Linked DNA regions of Homo sapiens: region 2 is linked to region 1. The links are contacts of gene promoters, found by promoter capture Hi-C in human tissues and cell types (Jung and others, 2019). All regions are on one chromosome and are shown on one strand. The core of a region is centred on a gene start or on the middle of the fragment in contact, and the rest is flanking DNA. Distances in the headings are between cores, read along the strand shown.

What was found. The method cuts DNA at HindIII sites, captures the fragments that hold promoters and counts their contacts. A contact is called where the count stands out against the background at its distance.
Region 2: a contact is called between a fragment that was not itself captured here and the fragment with the promoter of SNRK in region 1, in 1 of the 25 tissues and cell types used here (hippocampus).

The regions. Positions count from the first base shown.
Region 1 is chr3:43,283,606-43,291,058 of GRCh38, forward strand. SNRK (SNF related kinase) reads left to right here and starts at 2,935. Exons shown (of 7, transcript NM_017719.5): 1 at 2,935-3,070. RefSeq lists an enhancer at 2,675-3,175 and silencers at 2,780-3,179, 3,420-3,469, 5,881-6,108. The HindIII fragment of the contact is 11,190 bases long and covers 1-7,453 here.
Region 2 is chr3:44,322,931-44,330,383 of GRCh38, forward strand. TOPAZ1 (testis and ovary specific TOPAZ 1) reads left to right here. Exons shown (of 20, transcript NM_001145030.2): 18 at 162-365; 19 at 5,320-5,503. LOC105377055 (a long non-coding RNA gene) reads right to left here. Exons shown (of 4, transcript XR_940782.4): 4 at 1,761-3,830. Among named protein-coding and RNA genes, the nearest start is that of TCAIM, 12 kb to the right of the region's middle. The HindIII fragment of the contact is 6,671 bases long and covers 1-6,551 here.

The DNA.
Region 1 (7,453 bases), core at 1,685-4,184:
CAATCCAGTTCCCAGGAGAAGCTGATGCTGCTAGTCCAGGGAGCACACTTTGAGAACCACTGCTTTACATCAAACTTATAAGAAAGGTATTATTATCATCACTGTCTTTCTCATTTTACAGAAGAAACATATAGAAGGTTATGCAACTTTCCCAAAGCCATCTTGCTCTTAGCAGTAGAGATGGGGTTAAATGTCAATGTCTGTCCTATCTTCTAGTTCACTGGTTGCAAACAAGCAGAGTTAAGGACTGGCATTTCCAATTCTTGTTTGCAACTATCAGAAATATCTCTCTCTCACACACACACACACACACACACACACACACACACACACACAGGACCTTAACTGACATCTGAGATAAAAGAGTAGAAGATGTTAACTGATGCCCATAGGGTGGTGAAGGAGTCTTTGAGGAACTCTTTAGGTCATTCCAATTAAGTATTATTTTGATCCTACTGGGGTGAAGCCAGGATCTAGAAATGCACAAGTATAAATGTATGAAATAACTAGTTAAATATGTAAAAGGGAATGTTGTTAAATAAAATGTCACAACTCAAAATTGAACTGTGTATGAATATTCAATGTCTGTTGTTTTAAATACATTTATTTTAAAATTTGAAATAAATTACAAAAACTAACAATATCCAGAGAAGATAACCTTGTTACATATGCTGCTTTTGGGGTTCCAAAGATGAAAATGACAATTCTTTCATCAGTCTGCTCAATTTTCACATTTTGATCTAATTTGTGGCACCTCCCTGGTTTCCTTCCAATAAACAACATCTTCCTTAAACTGGTGGCATTATGTTATTTTTGAGATCTGAATCACAGAGACTGTAATACAAGCAAGCATGCTTCATCTTGTCGTTTTGTAGAATGCTGTACATCTAATTAAAGCTTCTTACAGGTCCATAAAAAGACCCAACATTAAAAAAGCAGTGTGTTGGAGAAAGCCCCAGGGCAGAGTGGAAAAGGAGTTTCTTCATTAACTATAAGCACATTTGCTTAAATTCCAACTTAAGTAATACTATTAATTTGTACTTGAATATCTTAAAATATTGCCGAAGCATAATCAAATCATGTCACCACATTTATGGTGTGGAACCAAAACTGGGTCATATTCTTGCCAGCAGCACTTCAGCTACCCAAGAAATACTGGGGATGAATAAATGATTTACCATGTGGCCAGTACTGCGTCCTTCTCTAGAAGAGTATTGCAGCCAACTTCATTTAAATCAATTTATTATTTTGCCCTTTTTCATTTGTTTTGCTCTTTTATGCCTTGTTTTCCTTAGAAAATTTATTCAAAACCTAGTTAAACAGCAGCAATATAAATACTTTATTTTTCAAGAGCTTATATATTATCGTCATTGTTCTGTAGTTACTGATATAACTCAGGGACTACAGACCCAGGGGTGGAGGCCTTCGACCACTGGAAATCCCTTGGGAGACCATTACAGTGGTATTTTCTCCCTTTAGTTGGCTACAGAGTTCCCTGAATAGTGATATCTCCCTGAGGAGAAAAGTGCATGGTCTTCCTGATTTCTAGCAACAAAAGGACAAATTCTACAAATCCAAGTTAGGAGCTCTTGCTTAATATGCTGCTACAGTTACGATTTCCATGTCAAAATGAGATGACTCTTTTATGGTCTTTTCAGGTCAGAGTGATCCCAGGTGGGACCCTAAGGCGCAGAGGCCTAATCTGAGGCTTTCCCTGGTGCTCTCCCACCACCTGATGCAAGGGTATTAGGGTAACTGGGAGTCCCCTTGATCAGAAAACCCTATGTTATTACCCTAAGAATCAAACTGTTTGCACCTCCCAACAATCCACTCCTGCTTCCCAATCATCTTCAGACATGCAAAGTTGATGCATAGAAGCTAAAAGGCTTTTGACATTTGCAGGTCAACAGAGATTTGCTAAAACCATCTAGATTTCTCTTCGCAGTCCAGTCAATTCAACCAAGCCTGCAGCATCTCCGCAGCTCTTCTGGCTTGTGTCCTTCCTTGCTAGGGGTCCTTTCTTGGGGAAGGGTGGACACAACGTGGGAACAGAAGGGGAAAAGCAGGTTGAAGAAATCTGGCGTCTGGTTTGTTGGTGTTCCCTTCCAGGAACCCTGAAGAGCTGGTCTCTATTGCATGCCATGCTTCCAGGGGTGGGAGTCGGGAGTCCCCTCCCACCCTCTGCGGCCATCCCTAAGCTCCCTTCCAGAGCAACCTGGCCTGGCGACCATACCACTGAACCATCAAGGGCTATGGTTAATGCCCGGCGTGTTTTGAATCTCTGACTTCACGTGCTTTGATGTGTCCCCACGACCGTTTACTTTTCTATGCTGTTGCCAGAGGCTGCCTAGCAGGGCCTGTGTCTCCCGCTGACCTTTAAGGCCAGCACTGCATTCAGATGTTGGGCTTTTCCAATTTTGCTTAAATAACAACAAAATCAACCGAATTTTTTCAAATTAGAGTCCCAGGGAGAAGAAACTACAGAGAAAAAAATCATATTATGTATATATATGTATATACATATGTGCATGTGTGTATGTATATGTATTTTTACAATTTTTTTATCCTTGTTTAAACCTGGGCGGGAACCAAAGAGTAAAGCGCGTGCGGCTCCCTGCCCCCTGCCGCCAAGACGCAGTCCTGTACAGACGCGGTCCCTTCCCTCCGATTTCCCCTGACAGCTCGCGCTACTTTTTCCCGGCCATTGTTCCGTGTCCCTGGTGCTTCCTCCTCCCCCGTCCTCCATCCTCCTTGGGCGCCTTGCCCGCTTTGTCCCGCCAGCCGCCTCAGCCCCGACTCGCCGGGGTCAGAAAGCCGCCAGGATGCCCTCCAGCAGCCCGCGCGCCGGCCGCAGGTGCGCGCCGCCCCGCCCTGCCCTTCCCGCGGCCCCGCCCCAGCGCTGACGTCACAGTGACGCGCAGCCCGCGCAGGCGCAGCTACCCGGCACCCCCTCCCCGCGGCCGGCAGCCCGCTCGGTATTATGATTAGCGCTGGGTGCGGGGTTTCGGCGGCCGGGAGGGAGTTGTCGGCGCCGCGGCCGCTGCGGACGGACGCTCGCCTGCCGGCTGAGGTAGGGGCGAGCGCGGAGCGCGGCGGGGCGCGGCGGCCGTAGGCAGGGGTGCGGGGCCGGCCTCCGCCGCCTCAGTAGCCTCCGCTGTTGCCGGGCTGGGCGCCCGGGCCGGGGCGCTCGCCGCAGGCGGAAAGTAAGTTGCGCTCTCGGCGCCGGCCGCAGCGCGCGGCCCGGGAGGACGCGGGGCCCGGGCTGCGGTGGCCCGGACCCCGCGGCGCGGCCTGGCGGCGGGGCGGCGGCGGGGCCCGGCGGGAGCCGTCACTGCGGCGGCGGCCGCGGTCGCCTGGAGGCCCTGCCCTTGCGGCCGCGGCGGGATTGCGGCACCTCGGAAGGCGCCCGCATCCCCGCGCCCCGCCCCGGAGCGGGCCGAGTGCGGCGCCCGCGGGGCCCCGCGCCCTGGGCGCTTGGTAGGGTGTGTGTTCTTTGAATGCGTTTTCCCCTTTCAGAAGACTGTAGAAATCCGGCCTCAGCAAAAGGGTTCCGTGGTCAAACTGCTTTACAATAGAGTGGGGATGTTGTCTGTAGAGAAAGGGCAAAGGGGTAAGGAAAGAGGAGCAGTGCCATTCCCGAGGGAGAGCTAGAATTTTTGCAGACTGGGAGACTGGGAAATCTACGTTCTTTTCCATAGTCATCGCCTGTTGATTTCTTTCTGGTCCATTTTACAGGGACCTTCCTGCCTTTTACTTGGACTTGGGTTGCAGGAAAGTGGCAGCCTTTTATCTTCGGGGTTCTTGGAGCTGTGCTATTTGTAACTGTTGGATCGCATACAGTCCAGTAGTTTCATAGGGAGTTTCAGGCTTTGGGGAGAATTTAGCAGTGGAGTTCCTAAATCTATAGAGGTCTGAGGATATGGGACCTTTCAAACTGTCATGTTACTTTCCACCCCCCTTCCCTTTAATTATGTGCATTCTTAAAGTCTTAGGAACCGTGGTAAAGTTGACTTAATGCCTTAAACATTTTGTCAGGTTTTAAGGTGAAGCATGGCTTGCAAGTGTTGGACATCCTGTTGAATCTCCACCAAGTTCCTATCAAACATGAAATGCCTGAGTTTGGGCTCCTTGTATGGGATTGGAGCACTATGTCCCAAACCAGTCTTTAACTTATCAGAATATATACAGCAGTGTACTTTAAAGCCCGGGTTGTCAAGGCTTATGTAATCAGTTTGTTAATTTATAATCTCGTTACATTGCTTTCCAGATTTATAAAATAATTCCCTTAAGGAAATCTGTCCTCAACGTCTGCTTAAATATTTCTCTTGGAATTGGATTCTTGAAGAGGAATGTACTGTACAAGTGATGATTAAAGCATACTAATTAGACAAGTTTCTTTTTTTAAAGAACACCAAATACCAAATTTTTAATCTGATTATCTGTGTAATTGTCCTTGAGAGGAGAACAGGTGGACATTCCCATTTTACAGAACTAGAAATGAGAGAAATTACATGACATTTCCAAGGTCACATATTGAAGCAGTGTAGAAAGTCAGGTGCACAGTGCTAACTTTTTATAATACTCTCATCCTGAAGGCTTTTCAGGCAGGAAACTTTCAGTGCCACCTTTCAATTTTTTTTTAAATTTGTATAATCAGTTTTTAATTGTTCATTTTGTGCACAAAAATTACTCTCACCGTATTTTTTAATAATTCTGAGTATTTTTTTCTGTTTTACTGCAGTAAGATCCATTAGTCTAAAACATGCTAGAACTCAGAAGTTGTACTAATTTTATTTTTCTAGACCAGAAGTATAGGTTGGGTCTTTATGGTTTAGATTTAATCACATAATCCTAAAAGAAAGGCTTTTAAATGTCCTTATTAAAATTGAAGGGCTTTCGTGATATTTTTACTGGTCACAGGAAATACTGTTCATCTGAACTTCACTGTGAGTACTTCCCTCATACAGAAAGTGAAACCAAATAGAAAAATATTTATTTCTGGAGATACTGAGCAGCCATGGTTCTAAGTACTGGTATAAATAAGACATGATTTCTTCCCTGTAGCAGCTTGTCTAATCCTAAGAGCTCTTTACACTGCCCAAGAAGAAAAGGGTACAAATGAACTTTCCATAGGCCAGAATCTTAGGAATTAAAAACCGTAGATGAGAAACTCTAGACTTAATGTAACTGCATCCCAGCTGTTTGCTTAAAGATAGAGTGTTTATAACTAAGATGCTTTAGTAAGAAAACTGTTATTCAGAATTTAGGTATTTCCCAGTGTGTATCTATGTGCAGGTAAACTTAGAACAACTTAGGTGGAAAAATTGAGTGGATCCTAGCAGTTCTGAAGATAAACTTAACCTTTGATCATTTATTCATGGAATGTTTGTGTGTCTCTTTTGGTGGCCCTAGGGTAGAGGGAGGGCAGCAGTAGAAAAGTGAATAAAAACCAGTTCCTGACTGTAGGTTCTTAGAAGCTACTGGGGAACACCAAGGTAAACAGTAACAGTACGAACAGATGAACTGTGGTGAGGCATAGGGAAAAACCTGCAGAAGCACAAGGATGGCGGCAGTGAACAACCTGACATGGAAATGCTTCACAGAGGAGGTGATGGTTAAACTGGTCTTGAAGAATAGGAAGAATTCCCAGGCAGAGAAAAAGGGAAAAGGCTCAGGGGGTTCAGGGAGGGTGAGAAGACAAGGTCAAGTGGTGGGTGGGAGAAGAACATAGATCCAAGTGGGTGAAAGGGAGTTGAGAAGGCTGAGACAATGCAACTGTTCTTTCCTTAAAGCATTTGAAAAGGAAGGAGGGAAATGGGGCAGTTGCTTTGGGGGATGGAGGAGAAGGATTTTGGTGAGGTGTTTGTTTTGTTTTGTTTTAACTTTGGGAAGAGCTGGTATAAAATTCCTCAGATTTAATGGCCTCACGAGTGAGCACTGGAACTGTGTTGTCTGCTCTGGATAATCCAGAGCTACGTCATTGATCCTCATCTGCTTTTCTGCACATCTGCTTTGGGTTGTGGCTCTGTGTCTCATGGGAAACCATTTCTTGCTGGTGGTAGGGAAGGAACCTGTCTAAAGAGGATTCCTGCTTTGCCCTCCCTGAACATTTATTTCTCTGCTGTCACTTCCAGAGCCTCCTGAGAGTCTGCTTTGGCATCCCCAGCATTTGGCCTCTGCTCAGGTAGGCTGTTCCATGGCAAATCAGGCCTCTTTCCCTTTCCTTTTGCTATTATGCCCCCTAGTCTGCTGCCATGTGGCTACTCAAAAGTTACTTCAGACTCAGAGATCATTAGTTGTTCATCTAACATGTTTTAAGTTTTGGAGTATCTTCAGGCCCAAAGCAAGATTAGGTCTATCTGCACATCTAAACACATACCCTCTTGACTAATATTTGCCTGGACCGTTTAATGTAGGTTATGACAAAAATGCTCCAGGAACCTGGATTACACAACATAACGGTGGTCAAATCGCAGCCTCACTGGGCCTCAATTTCTTAATTGTTGACCTGCAGTTATCTCTCTTAAACCCATAATACTGTCAGCTCTTTGAAGGCAGAGACTACTTCTTTGATCTGTACATTATCAGACCCAAGTAATGCCGGGTACATAGTCTGTACCAAGAAGTGTCTTGGTGAAGAAGGTAAAAAAATCTAATCTTTAATTTGTTGATTTTATCAGCTTGTTATGGAAACCACACCCTTTCTAATAAAGCTGGGTTGGATTTGAATTGTTTTTCAATCATACAATTTTAGAACTAGAAGCAAATCCTCTACTTTCTGCTAGCATGTTGTAGATGTTCCTGTCCTGAAAGTCCAGTCTGAGAGAATGGCATCACCAGCTACCACTCTCCGCTAGAGTCATTCTGGATTTCTCCCTTTGCTTAGCCTCCTGTGCATTGAGTTCTTGGATTCTACTTCCAAAATGTGTCTCCTCCACAACATCCTTATCATCACTGCCCATATACCAGCTGCCCTCATTTTTAAGTCTTTAAGTAATTTACCTGGAGACATTTTCAGTTGTCTGCTTACCTGTCTTCTAGCTCTATTCTCGCCCTTTCAGTCTGATCTTCACTTTGCTGCCAGAGTAATTTGTTAAACCATCATCTCTGATTGCCATTCTCCTGCTCAGGATTTTTCTTGAGCTCTTGTTTTTGGCTCTTTATGCTAGCCTTCATTTGTTCATTTAATAAAATATATCTGTATATTTTGAGTAGATGCTATACTTGGCAGACCCTGGGATAAAGAACTAAATAAAATGAACATGATCCTTATGTGAACTGAGCCTGTCATTTAGTTTAGTGGGGGACACAGATTATTAACCACACAGTCACACAAATAATTATATGACCTCACATTTGTGATAAGGGTCATAATGGCAAAGGACACAGTGCTGTGAGTGAGTATAGGGAGCTGTATGTGCATGGAGTTGGGGAGGGCAAGGGGATGGTCAGG
Region 2 (7,453 bases), core at 1,966-4,465, 1.0 Mb after region 1:
AAAAATAAAGAGAATATATAAAATGATTGCATTTTAGTGACTGTGAGTCCTATAATGGGTAAGAAAGGGTGAAGGGGAGGAGAAAGAAAAAGGAGTATGAGATGGAGGTTTGAGACACTTTAATATAAATGAATTTTATTATATCATTTTTTTTATTCCAGAAACTGTGGAAGTCTCACAATATAGCCTTCTTTTTAATAAGCTTCTAGGTTCCTGTATAGAAAGCAGTAGTCTTGGTATGTCATCCTCTGTGGCAGAATTCATGATTTCAAAGAGCATCCCTATTGATTTTTCCTTTCTCAGAAGATTAATTACTTCTTTAGGAAGGAGTCGTTTATGGCTCAAAGCCAGAGCCCACTACAAAAGTAAGTTACATTTAAAATGTTTTAATATATTGGTTTATAATTGTATTCTCTAACCCAGAATTTATAATATATAAGATTAGATATTTATATGTATTAAAAGAGCAGTAATACATATTCAAATGTAGTGGTCTCAACAGATCTGTGCTCTCTTTTGAAACCTATTGTTTCTCTTCTGTTTCCAGTTGCTTTCCTTATTTCCAATGTTTGCAATTTCCAATCTTTATTTCTTGCACAGTAGCCTGTCCGCTAGAGGGCGAGCAAAGGGAACAAATGACAGGATAGAACCAGTTTGGCATATCTTATAAATAATGCAAGCATAAAACAAGTGGGTAGAATGAAGTTTAAAGAAGATCTGTTTTTATTTATCTCTGCTATATCCCTAATTGTTATAACTAAAAATATTCAATAGCAGGTCACATCAGAAGCATAAAGGCTGTCATAACAATGCAACATAGTATATGTTTTTCACATGGCTTTTAGTAATAGAACTTTGTTAATCTACTTACAGCTGTTGTTCTCTAACAAATAAGCCTGGAAAACTAGTGCTTTCTCTAGTCCAAGCCACCTCGCAGGTATTTTAATTAGAAAGTAATTCCATGTACGTTCTAGATCTAGAAAAGCATTGTTTTTTCTGCCTTCATGCAGTAATTTGTCTTCAGCTACCATTTCTACCACTATCATGTATATAACAAATATTTGAGTGCCTACTCTGTGTCACCCCGTACCAAATGTGTCAAATATCCTAGCCACTACTACCTGAGCTGGAAGTGTTTTTCAGGTGGCCAGCTGTGATCAATGCAGCAGGTGGTAACTTTTTTTCCCCAACAAAATGGGAAAGAAAATACTAGGGTACATTACAGGTAGTAAGTTTAATTATTTGATAAAATTTTCATTTCAGTTGCATATATGCACGTATGTATACTGGGTCATTATGCAAAATGTGTTTCTTGTAGGTTATAATCAAAAGAAGTTTTGAAAGCTGAGTTTTCTTAAAAAGGGTGATCAGAAATTTAGAGGAAAGATAGAATTGTTTGTTCATAACACCTAATTTCAATTGTGTGGTTATGTTTCAACTCTTTATACTATTTACCTTCAGACTTCTAGAAACCATACACACACACATATATGTGTGTGTGTGATTTTAGTTTCTAGAATTGAAGTTAATGGGAATAATTTCATATAACTGTGCAACTGGGGGGAGATGCCATCAAAAGGTGTTTATATGCCACAGGAACAAATATAAGCTCAGACATTTAAATGAGATTTTTATAAATATTTCTATTTTTTAGTTGGAAATAAAATTTTATATTAAAGCATCTAGACTTAATCATTTACTTTAAAAATTTTTAACAACTTTATAGAAGTATAATTCAAATGCCATACAAGTCACCCATTTAAAGTATACAAGTCAGTGGTTTTACTATATCTACAGAGTTGTGTAACCATCACCATAATCAACTTTAGAATATTTTATTCATACCAGAAAGAAACCTCATATGCATTAGCAGTCACTCCTCATTCCTCCAAATCAATTCAGCCCTAGTAAGAATTACTTTTAAAGATTTTTTTAGCAGTGTGTTAAAGCAATTAATGCCTGTGTACAATACAGTACCTTTGTTATTGGAACTTTTCCTTTTATCTAATCACATATTCCTTATTTCATATGCAGTGTAACTTCTGAGACTTATGCAAGTGAGGTTACGGGATAAAGAGTATTTTTGTTTTTTAAGGAATGTACTTGAATTATAAAACCATGAATAAAAATGAGTAATTTACAGCCAAGTGAGTAATTTATAGCCACTGATCAGTCTTCAAAACATCTCATTTTCTAACAACATTGACATTAAAATTATATTGGAACTCCTTTTGGATTTATTTTCAGACATAGCTTAACCCTTGCAAGAAGAGCCTTTCAATGGTATATAATCGTGTCTAGTAGTACTTTATTTGGGACTTAACGCTGACTTTCTTCAAGGCACTGTTAAGACTTGGTGCCAGTGCCTTTGTTTTGACTTTTTTTAAACTTTTTTTGTTTTAATATTTTTATGGCTTTATTGAGATAATTTCACATATCATGAAATTAGTTCACTTAAAGTATATAATGCATTCATTTTTGGTATAGTCACAGAGTCATGCAGCCATCACCACCATTTAAGTTTAGAACATCTTCAACACCTCCAGAAAAAGAAACCTTGTACACATTAGCATTTATTCTCCATTCCCTGGTTGTCTCCTCTTCCACCCTAGTCCTAGGCAACAACTAATTTATTCTCTGTCTCCATGAATTTGCCCATTCTAGACAGATCACATAAATGGAATCATTTAATACATGTGTTTTAGTGACTGGCTTTTTTTTTTTTTTCTTGGAGACGGAGTCTCCCTCTGTCACCTAGGCTGGAGTACAGTGGCGCAATCTCGGCTCACTGCAACCTCCACCTCCCAGGTTCAAGTGATTCTCCTGCCTCAGCCTCCTGAGTAGCTGGGATTACAGGCACATATCACCATGCGCAGCTAATTTTGTATTTTTAGTAGAGATGGGGTTTCACCATGTTAGCCAGGCTGGTCTTGAACTCCCAGCCTCAGGTCATCCATCCACCTCGGCCTCCCAAAATGCTGCGATTACATGCGTGAGCCACTGCACCCAGCCATGACTGGCTTCTTATACTTAGCCTAGTGTTTTCAAATTTCAGTGTTGTAGCATGTATCAATACTTTGTTCCTTTTTATTGCTAAACAATATTCTATAAAATGGAATCTGTTTATTCATTGGTTGATGGACATTTGAGTTGTTTTCACTTTTTGGCTATTGTGAATAGTGCTACTTTGAATATTCACATAAGTTTTTATGTGTATATATGCATTCATTTCTCTTGGGAGAATTGCTGACTCATACAGTAAATCTATATTTAGCTTTTTGCCAAACTGCCAAACTGTTTCCTGAAGAAGCTGCATCATTTTATATTTATATTCCCACCAGCCGTGTACGGGATTTCCTGTTTCTTTATATCTTCACCAACACTTGTTACTGTGTTTTTTATTTTAGCTTTCCTCCTAGTGGGTGTTAAGTAATGTATCATTACAGTTTTGGTTTTCATATCCCTAATAACTAATGATGTTGAGGACCTTTTCATACAGTTATTGGTCATTCGTATATTTTCTTTTGAGAATGCCTATTAAATCTTTTGCCCTTTTTTTTTGATTGGGTTTTTTTGGTTGTAAGAGTATTCATACATACATACACATGTACATATGCATTTATATACACTCTGGATACAAATCCCTTGTCAGATATATGAATTACAAATATTTTGTCCATCCTGTGAGTTTTCTGTTACTTTCTTGATGGCTTTCCCTTGCTTTCATGCCAGACTAATCAGGAGGAGGTTGTCCAGGGACAGCAGAGTTTCCTTTCTCACGCTCCTGATTTGTTCTCCTTTGTCCTAAAAATACTGCTTTTCTCTCAGAACTGAGAAGTCAAGAGAGAGATGTTATTAGTGTATCTTTCCATTACTTTCTCCCCAAAATCAAATGTGAGTATTTTTCTTCTCACGTTTCATTTTGAGTGAAAAAAAAAATCGTATTAGTAGATTTCTAGTTAATTTTTTATTTTCTGCTTTTTAATTCTGGTAAGAAAAGTTAAATAAGAATGCATGTAAATTATACCTACCAAAAACTAGTAAAGTTAATGAGTTAACAGTTTGTTGCTCCTGGCAGTGACCTAGGGAGGTGGGAATACCTAGTGGTTAGGAATCCAAAATCTGGAGCCAGAAAGTGGGCACCCCATGCAAGCTTAGAGAGCCTGAGTGCTTACCAAAAGCCCCTCGTCTATAACATGGAAGTAATTGTACCTAATTTCAAAGGTAGCATTTTGTCAAGTTAAAATGAGGTAAAACCCATGTGTTTGTTAGCACATGTACATGGCACATAGCAGGTCTTCAAAGATTAGCCATTACCCATATTAGAAAGATTTCTTGAAGAAACTCATCCTAACAAAACAAAACATTCTAAGCAAAATTTACATACATATTTAAATTGGTTTCAGTAAAATATAATAATATAAAATTGCCTATATATAGTTTGGATGTTCTAGAAGTTTTATAGGTATTTCCCTATATATCTCTCCTAATAAGCACCTAAACAATTTAAAAGTTAAATCTCTTCTCTTGAAAAGTGAAGTTTTAAAAACATGAATTGGTGAATGTAGCTACAACACACAGATCACCTACAGGATGGAAATGTATTTTATGCCTAGTACTTAGCACAATGCCAGACATTTAGTAGCAACAGTAAATATTGCATAAACTATAATGGTACTATAAATAACTGTGCTCAAAAATAGTTATTCTGAAATTGTCTTGTGTTTACTGTGGCTTGAAATAAATGTCATTTGCCATGATAAGGCCCAAAAGTCATTTTTCAGAGTGTTTTTTTTTTAATGTTTCTCACTTTTTTTGTTTTTGTTTTTGTTGAGATGGAGTCTCACACTGTCGCCTAGGCTGGAGTACAGTGGCACAATCTCGGCTCACTGCAGCCTCTGCCTCCCAGGTTCAAGTGATTCTCCTGACTCAGCCTCCCGAGTTGCTGGGACGACAGGCACCCGCCACCACACCCAACTAATTTTTGTATTTTAGTAGGGATGGGGTTTCACCATGTTGGCCAGGCTGGTCTCAAACTACTGACCTCAAGAGATCCACCCGCCTCAGCCTCCCAAAGTGCTGGGATTACAGGCATGAGTCACCACACCCAGCCCTTCTCACTTTTTATTTAATGTTTCAAAAGCACTTTACAAAGAATAATGCCAAATATACTAGGATAAGCTATCATGTAATTTGTTAATCTACTTCTAATGTGAAGACTTATTCTGTGTAAGTAATTATCGCCTGTAGGTATTTCAGAAATCTAGGTTTTTACCTATTGGGTTTTAGTAAAGTTTGACCTATTATTTGATTTTTCAGGTGCTCTTTCCTTGGGTTGCTACCCACCATTGGAAGGAAATTTATACCGAAAACTTCTTCTAATTCCATCTTATTTATCTGAGATTGAAATGCTCTTAGCTATTGAAATCTTCATGGTATCTAATGCTAGTAGTATTCAGAGTCCTGGAACTTCTACACAGATACTGCAGATAGTTTTGAAAAGGTTGGTTGACATAACTTTAACTGCATTCTGAATGTAGATCATGACTCCCCACACCCACCCTAAGATGTAAATGTTTTATGTGTTTTTATACATACATATATATTTATGTATATATTTATATATGTACTTTATGTGTGTGTATTGCAAACTCTGATATCATTTAAACTAAGAAAGGATTAGACCTGTTTGAGGCTTAAAACCAAACAAGTTAGTAGCATTCGGTAAACACTTTAGCAACTTCAGAGATATAGTTAGATGTTCAAAGAGACGGATCCTCTTTAGGTACCAACCTTTCTTGTGTTTAGAGATCAGTACCTATAAAAATCTTTATCTCTAGTCAACTCAAAAGATCAAAGGACTAGGGTCTAAAAGGGAAATACGTGATCAGCCAAGAATACCATTGAAAATAAAGCCATCAGCCTAGTTTCTATATTTTATAATGCTATATATGCATAAATATTATAAAGTAGGTACTGTACCAGAGTGACACCCTTTCACGTAATTTTGTTTAGAATCCTAGAATTTAGGCATACAGTAGATGGTGTGCCTAAATCGTGGTATGCCATACGATTTCTTGTCAGCTTTATCCAGGAAACTTGCAATATAAGGATCTCCTGGGAATCCTGTTTTAGAGCTTCTTGACAAGAATTTTGCTTCAGTTTACTGGTGTGACAAACCAGATCCTCTGGTTGAATATTACATTAGTTATCTGTTGCTATAGAATAAATTATCCCTGGACCTAATGGCTTAAAACAGAAAATAGTATCTTAATATCTGTGGGTCAGAAATTTCAGAGAGGTTTAGCTGGATGGTCCTGGCTCGGGAATTTTCATGTGACTCAGTTTTTCCACATAGTTGGAGTCAAGATGTTGTCAGAAACTTTAGTCACCTACGTGATAGCTTGCTGGAGCTAGAGGATCCTTTTGCTAGATGGCTCACTCAAATACCTGTTGGGTGGAAGCCTCATTTCACCACATGGGCCTCTCCATAGGTTGGTTAAGTGTCTTCATGACATGACTGACAGCTAATTTCTCCCAGAATGAGTGATCCAAGAAAGAAAAAGCAAGGAGGAAGCTGCAGGGTCTTTTGTGACCTATATCAAGCAAGAACTGTGAAGAGTCTGAGATTTTACCCTATTGCAAGCTACAAGCTAACCTGCCACAGTTTCATAGATGGTAGCATAAGACACAAGACTCCTGTGTCGGAGACAGAGGACTTCATTATTTGTGGTACACCAAACAGCATGATTATCTACGTATTTGCATCATTTCCTCTTGCTCCTAAGTCCCATAGATGGGCCTACATGGATACCTACATATGCCATGAGTTCTGTAACAGGAGAGGAGTACCCAGCTTAGGAAACCCAAATATTTTATGAGTAACAGGCATGCCTGCCCTTTGCTTTGCAGGGAGGTACTGTCTCCATCATCTAAGACTGTGAGCAAACCTGCCCTTTGCTCCAGAAGAAGAAACTATCTTTATCTTTCAAGGTTGTTCACTGTATAATCCTTGTAATTTAGAACAAAGGGTAGGCAGTGACTCTTGCAAAACTTCACAAACTCAAGAGACCCATGGAGAGTTGTCATCCAACAGCCTACTATCCAAAGTTACATACTGTCACTTCTGTTCTCCTTTTTTGTAGATGAGTCTTTTGATCCAGTCCACACTTAAGGGGAGGAGAATTAGGAAGTAAATTATTTTAGTTCCACCTTCAAAAAAACCCACTAAAATTCACCTTTTTTCTTATAGTTCTTTTTTTCAGAGGGCTTCCTTATTTACCACTGTGCACTATGGTGGATAAGGCATCTAGGCTCCCCATCATCCTAATGAGGTCATGGTTTTCTCATAGCTTTCTATTCCCCACACACATGCAACTTCTTTGTTTACTTATTGAATTTGGAAGGTATTTGTAACCATAGTGCATAACTAGTGACATACCTAAATCTTTGA